Linked DNA regions of Homo sapiens: region 2 is linked to region 1. Evidence: promoter capture Hi-C in 16 types of primary human blood cells and fetal thymus (Javierre and others, 2016). All regions are on one chromosome and are shown on one strand. The core of a region is centred on a gene start or on the middle of the fragment in contact, and the rest is flanking DNA. Distances in the headings are between cores, read along the strand shown.

Region 1 (3,275 bases), core at 134-2,633:
TGGTCCATAGCTGTTCTCTGTGAGCCAAAGCCGTGTCTCTAGAAGAATTGTCACAGTGATTTCCCAGCTGTCCCCCTCAGCTGCTAGGTCCCCTCCCCAGCTGCTCCCTGCGGTTCTCACGCAGATGCAGCCCTTGGTTCCAGAGCGGGGTGAGCCTGAGCTGGCGGTCAAGGGGTTAAATTCTCCAAGCCCAGGTAATGGTTGTGATGACTCCTACCTGGGAGGACGCCGTGATTGGGCTGAGCTACCTTGATTGAGTGAGGGGGCAATCTGCAATTTGCAGGGAAATCCTGAGTTCAGGCTGCACTGCAGAGCGTTCCTTGAGCCACCCATGCCCTCACCATTGGGCGAGAGTGGGGAGGTTAAGAATGGATGTTTTATCCTAACTGAGCAGAAGGCAGGCGGGCAGGGCTCTCCTTCCCTGAAGAAAGGAGGGGGAACATTTCCCCTGGTGAGCGCAGTCCCACTTCTCCTAGGGAAGGACCCCACGCTCGGGGCCCCACTCCTGCTGGATGTCCAGGCGGCCTTGGGAGGCCCAGCCCTGGGCCTGCCTGGGGCTTTAACCATTTATAGCACTCCTGAGAGCCGGACTGCCTCCTACTTGGGCCCGGAAGCCAGTCCCTCCCCCTAAGACCCCGCGCCTCTGAAGGGGCTTGGAACCAGTCCGCCGCTGCACATCCTTCTTGGCTTCCTGGCGCCCCCTATCGGGGGTGAGCGAAGCCCCCACTACTAAATGGCCTCTCTCCACTACCCCGACTATCCCTGCACATAAACTCCGTTTTTTTTTTTTCTGTTTCTGGTCTCTTTTCTCTATCGACCAGGGAGCACAGGAGTTATGGGTGGGGGGTGATTTTGCATTTGTAGAAGCGTCCAGATACTAGGTTTTTAATAGAGGAACCCCAGGAGGGTGGAGGTGCTTGGGGATCCGGTGCCTAGCTCCCTTGCTTAGGCCCGGGTCCAGGGCTGGCGCGGGGCCGCTGCAATCTCTGGGAAGCGGGGGCTTCTGGGTCGCGCTCAGCTCTGCAATGCATGCGTTCTGTGATCCTGGTGAGTTGGTATCCTTCTCTGAACTTCCTCTGTGACAGGCAGAGAAGAGGGGTCGATGACAAGATAGATGGAAAGCACCTGGAAATTGGCAGGCCCTGAGTGGGCGCTGGACGTGTGGGGCCGCGGGCCGAACTGCCCCCTCCTGGCCTCATCTCCTGGTGCGCCCCGGGTGGGGAGGGAAAGCTGACTACATGCACGTCCCCAGCCAGCGCGCGGCCTCCGCGGTGTGGCTCCTAGTGCCCGGGGAAGAACCCTCACCCTCCCTATTCCCAGCAGCCCTGGCCGCCCCGCCCCCGCCGCAGCTGCTGCACCCACCCCCACCCTGCCCGGCCCTTTCTGCACCGTCATCTCCTGCCCCGCCGAGGCTTGACCCGTGAGTGGGGACGCCCAAAACGGGCCAGACCGGGAGCCCCACTCCCGGCTGTGGGAGGGAAGGGAAACCGAGATTGGGCAGAATCAGCGCCCCACCACCCGCTGCGGCGCTCGGGGGTCGGGGGGGCGGGGTGGGTAGGACTGTGGGCCCCGCCCTGCCGCAGGACTCTCAAGCTCTGGGACTGGGTGGAGGGAGGTAAGGGGCGGGGGGGGAAAATCCGTGCAGTCGCACATGCGCAAAGGCTCTTCACTGTCCCAAGACCCTGGCTTCCTGGCCAAAGAGCCCGCGCAGCGAGGTGGGGTTGGGGGCTGGGACCCAGCTCCGTGCCCCGCCACCTGGCTCTCTGGGAAGAATCGGACCTGTCACCCTCGAAGGACTGGCCGCTAAATAACTTCGGTATTGAGAGCTGTGTGAGCCTCAAAGGGAGGGCCCAGACCAGCTGGAGTCTCTACCCCCAGACAGGATAAAGGGCAGGACTTGGGGTCATAGGAGGAGGCGGCTAACATGAAAACAACTTAGGTTGGAGAGAAGGAGGGGCCAATCCAATCTGCACCCTCCCTGTGTCTGTCCCGAGTAGGTGCTGTCCCCCTCTCCCTTCCTTTGCCCACCGATTGGAGGGACACTCTGGAAAACTCAGTTGAAGAAAGCGGAGAGTCTGCGTGTACACAGTGCAATGATGTCAGTTAATGCACTAGTGAGGGCATGTGTTGTTCACGGTACACAGAAGAAGGAACCACCAGCCCTTGGGACACTTAGGCATTGGTGTAGACAAGGGAACATTTGAGTCCTGGACGATGGATAGGTCCACGGAGCGGAGGGAGGAGAAAAGGATTCCAGTCTTAGCGATCAGCATCAGCAAAGGCTCCGAGGTGCCAGAGGCATAGTGAGTTCTCCGATCCCTGGCTGGTGGAGGGAAGCTGGGAAGGGCCTGGCTGTCCAGGGTGGTGGGAGGAGGCTAGAGTAGCCAGACCAGATATTTTGGGTTGTCTCTGATGGGCAGTGGGGTGTGGGGGGGAGGTAGATAGGTATTTAGGATGGAATTCTGCTAGACAGGAAAATATAGTTCAGTTCCTCATAGTTCAGGCTGGAGCAAGTAAGATTCCAGTTTTACCACTGAATCTCTGAGCCTGTCTCCTCATCTGTAAAATGGGAACAGCAATCCTAGCCCAGAGGGTTGTCAAAGTCACTGTGCTATCGGGCCTGGCAGAATGGGAGTGAGAGGGGCTCAGAGGGACTGTTACAGGACATGAGGTGACGATGGTGGGGTGGCAAGGCAGGAGCTGATGGAGACTCACTGAGAAGTGGAGAAGCAAGATTCATCACATACGGGACATAAAGGGAGATGGAGGGGCAGGGGGTAGTCCTGGTCTCGGCCTGGTGGGGAAGGGCTTCAATGGGAGGAAGCCAGGGTGTGAAGTGACGGGGGAGGTATAGTGTGACACCAGAGGGTACTGAGAAAGACCTGGGAGGCAGGATGGCGGCTAGGACTAAATCCTCTCTCCCAGAGAAGGCCGAGCCTCCTAGAGCCAGAGAAGGAGGCAGAGGAGGGACAGCAAAGGGAAGAAGAGATGGGAGGATGCCGTGTGAACAAAGCCAAGGCGGGGAGGAGAAGAAGTTATTATCAGGGTGGGGGTGGGCTGAGGGCATGGTTCAAGGCCTGATGTCTTTGCCTCCTAATGCCGGGGGTCTTGCTGGCTGGGTCAGGCCACTCACAGGAATGGGCCATAATCCTTGGTTGACAATAAATGGACAAAGCAGCTGGGTGCGGTGGCTCATGCCTGTAATCCCAACACTTTGGGAGGCCAAGGTGGGTGGATCACGAGGTCAGGAGTTCGAGACCAGCCTAGCCAACATA
Region 2 (3,489 bases), core at 297-2,796, 130 kb before region 1:
GCCTCAGCCTCCCAAAGTGCTGGGATTACAGGTGTGAGCCACTGCGCCTGGTCCACCATGCCTTTTATGATCCATTCTTCAAGTCACTTTCATACCTTTTATGATCTATTATTTGAGTCACTTGTTGCTTAGCCTGTTCATTAGAAGCTGGTCACTAAGTCTAGCCCACATTCAACAGGGAGGGAGGGATTACACAGGGGTGTGAATACCAGGAGGCTGGGATCATTGAGGCCATCTTGGAGGCCAGCTACAATAATACTCACTTAAATTTAGCGAACTCAGAAAAAATTAGAATCCTAATAGAGCGGAAACAAAAAGCTCTATATTCTCTATTATTTGAAATACAGTTTTATGATTTAAGAAAATGGGCTCATAGAAATTAGTCCTTTTATTCATTCTGTTGCTTATGTGGCTATAGAATATTTTCAAATCAAGGGCTTCTATAAGGAAGGTCTGTTAACGGGTGACTGATTATAAGTATATACCTTACATATGACCAAGTCAGAGCACAGAATTTTATAATCCTTCAAATATATTTGAAACTTTTATACCCAGGTACCTGGTGAGCTGTCTACATTGGCTCTTAATAAGGATCTTTCTCAGAAATGATTTAAACTAATAACAGTATAATAGAAAGAGCTCTAGATTTGAGTCAAGACAGTCATAACTATTTTCCTTAACATGTAAATGAGGATCAGAATGTCTGCCCTATTCATGTGCCTCATGTGAGAATTAAATGTAGTACCAGAATATGTGAAAATGCCTTTTAAATTGTAAACCCCTGTCTACAGTTAGGCAATTTGATGGTTCTGTAGGGTGAGATTATAGCTAACTGATTGATAGAGTGTTTGTGCTACAGTGTGCCTTAGGTAAGCTTCACGTCAGGTAGTTGAACAATGTTGGAACACTACATCTTTCCCAAGTGTTCCATCCTGGTGTGTTACAAACACTGGCAGCCAAAATGTTCTTAATTCTTTAATCTAGCTGTCAAAAGACAAGGGAAAAGCAACTAATCAGAATTTAAATCATTCTTAAGTTAAAATTGTGTAGACCAGGCAACTCCAGTTCCTTTGATCTTTCCTCTTAGGACTTATTTCCAATTACTTTTATTTCAAATAAATGCAAGTGATTATGGTTGACCATAAATTATTAGTCTTGAGTGGTCAGATTAATGGTTTTTACATGTATTCTGTGTCTCATAAAGCTTCATTGGGATTTTGAAATAATGATTGGATGTACTTACTTTGCGATCCCAGTTTATGACTTTAAAGATAAGGGGTATGAAAATCATTTCATAAAAGGAAAAAAATGAACTTTACAGTGCTACTGTTCATTTTTTTCTGTGGAAATTGAATATGCTATCTCGTTTTTACCACATTGACCTCAGAAAAAGAGAGGTTAAACTTTTCTATGGTTGTTACATTCTTGTTTATAGCTTATGATTTTAATTGATAGTCAAATACATTAATGTCAGACATCGAGAAGTATTTATTAAGTATATGTCATTAGAGTAGCTACTTTTAAAAATTTTGATAAGTTGTATTTTTTTTCTTTCTGGACTTTATACTTAAAAGTCTTTTAATTTATTTTTATGAGCATAAAATAAAGCAAAATCTAACAAGATTGGATTTAATGAGTGAGGACAGAATTTTATTTTAAATGGCCTTTTCTAATAAAGGTCTATGATTCTGCTTCTTCTGGTACCATTTACGCACTTGCCTGCAGGATCTTTGTCCCAAAATACATATTGTGTTTGTTTATATACCATCCACAATTTGGCAGAGTTTACAGGACTTCTTGATGTTAGCTTTGAGAAATCCCTATTTAAGCTCAAGAAGTTCCTTCTCTGTAGATAGCCCAGTCATTCCAAATAAAAGATCTCTATGGTAAAGCTTTGGAGTGTGATTTTCTTCAAGAGAAATTAGACAACTTTACAAATACCTTGTCACATCTGGATTTTAAGTATTTCAGTTCGACTAAAATATGAATTGACAGCACTTAGTTATTGACAGTTTAGTGTATTGAAATCTGGTTTTTAAAAATATGCTTTAGATAAACTATAATACTCTAATAATAACGGAATCATAAAATTTAGAACTGGTAACTGCAAGCTTATATATATATATATATTTGACACCTTTGTAGCTGGCAGAGCGTTTGTATTTTTAAAGAAAAGTTTTTATTTTAGTTATTTTAGTTATTTTTCAATCTAAGAGAGGAAGTCGACTTTCTGAAAAAATTAAAATGTTTTGGCTAGGTGGGGTGGTTCATGCCTGTAATCCCAGCACTTTGGGAGGCCGAGGCAGGTGGATCACCTGAGGTCAGGAGTTCGAGACCAGACTGGCCAACGTGATGAAACCCCACCTCTACTAAAAATACAAAAAATTAGCCAGGTATGCTGGCATGTGCCTGTAATCCCAGCTACTTGGGAGACTGAGGCAGGAGAATTGCTTGAACCCGGGAGGCGGAGGTTGCAGTGGGCTGAGATTGTACCACAACACTCCAGCCTGGGCAACAGAGCAAGACTCTGTCTGAAAAAAAAAAAATTAAAATGTTTTAAAATTAGTATGTCATAGTACCTTCCAGTTAGAGTACGTGAATCTGCATACATGGTAAATGCACCTCTGAAGCACTTGAAGATTGTGAAGTCCCGTTTTCTCTTCTTTTGGATTGCATTATTTCCATTTTAGTGTAAAGGTGAAATTCTCTTTCATGACCTTTCCTGAATTACATATTCCAAGTGAGAGAAGGCAGAAATAATATGTCTGAGAAGAGCATCCTTCACTCTTCCCCTCCTTCCTTCTACTTTCTACATTTTTTTTTTTTTTTTTGAGACAGTGTCTTGCTCTGTCATCCAGGCTGGAGTGCAGTGATGTAATCTTGGCTCACTGCAACCTCCGCCTCCCAGGTTCAAGCGATTCTCCTGCCTCAGCCTCCCAAGTAGCTGGGATTACAGGCACCCGCCACCACACCTGGCTAATTTTTGTGTTTTTATTGGAGATGGGGTTTCACCATTTTGGCCAGGCTGGTCTCAAACTCCTGACCTCAGGTGATCCGCCTGTCTTGGCCTCCCAAAGTGTTGGGATTATAGGCGCTCTGAGCCACTGTGCCTGGCCTTTTTTGTTGTTGTTTGTTTGTTTTTGAAACTAGATATCTCTCTGTCACCCAGGCTGGAGTGCAGTGGTGTGATCTTGGCTTACTGCAACCTCTGCCTCCTGGGCTCAAGCGATCCTCCCACCTCAGCCTCCCAAGTAGCTGGAACCACAGGCACGCGCCACCATGCCCAGGTAATTTTTTTGTAGATATGGGGGTCTCACCATGTTGCCCAGGCTGGTCTCAAACTCCTGGACTCAAGCAATCCTCTCGCCTTGGCCTCTCAAAGTGCTGGGATTACAGGCATGTACCCATCATTTTTTTTTAATGGTTAATTCAAATGCTGCCAGGATAAAGACTATTGAAATGTTGTTGTCTGAAGATGTTAATTTCTTT

Evidence for each region. The method cuts DNA at HindIII sites, captures the fragments that hold promoters and counts their contacts. A CHiCAGO score of 5 or more calls a contact.
Region 2: a contact is called between a fragment that was not itself captured here and the fragment with the promoter of NOL3 in region 1, in 9 of 17 cell types (activated CD4 T cells, naive CD4 T cells, total CD8 T cells and 6 more). The highest score is 9.1, in activated CD4 T cells.

The regions. Positions count from the first base shown.
Region 1 is chr16:67,169,155-67,172,429 of GRCh38, forward strand. NOL3 (nucleolar protein 3) reads left to right here and starts at 1,384. Exons shown (of 4, transcript NM_001276309.3): 1 at 1,384-1,420. HSF4 (heat shock transcription factor 4) reads left to right here. Exons shown (of 13, transcript NM_001374675.1): 12 at 125-194; 13 at 477-787. The coding sequence ends at 631. RefSeq lists enhancers at 441-490, 981-1,130 and silencers at 1,341-1,630, 3,271-3,275. The HindIII fragment of the contact is 13,408 bases long and covers 1-3,275 here.
Region 2 is chr16:67,042,983-67,046,471 of GRCh38, forward strand. All of the region lies in intron 3 of CBFB (core-binding factor subunit beta), which reads left to right. Among named protein-coding and RNA genes, the nearest start is that of CBFB, 16 kb to the left of the region's middle. The HindIII fragment of the contact is 688 bases long and covers 1,203-1,890 here.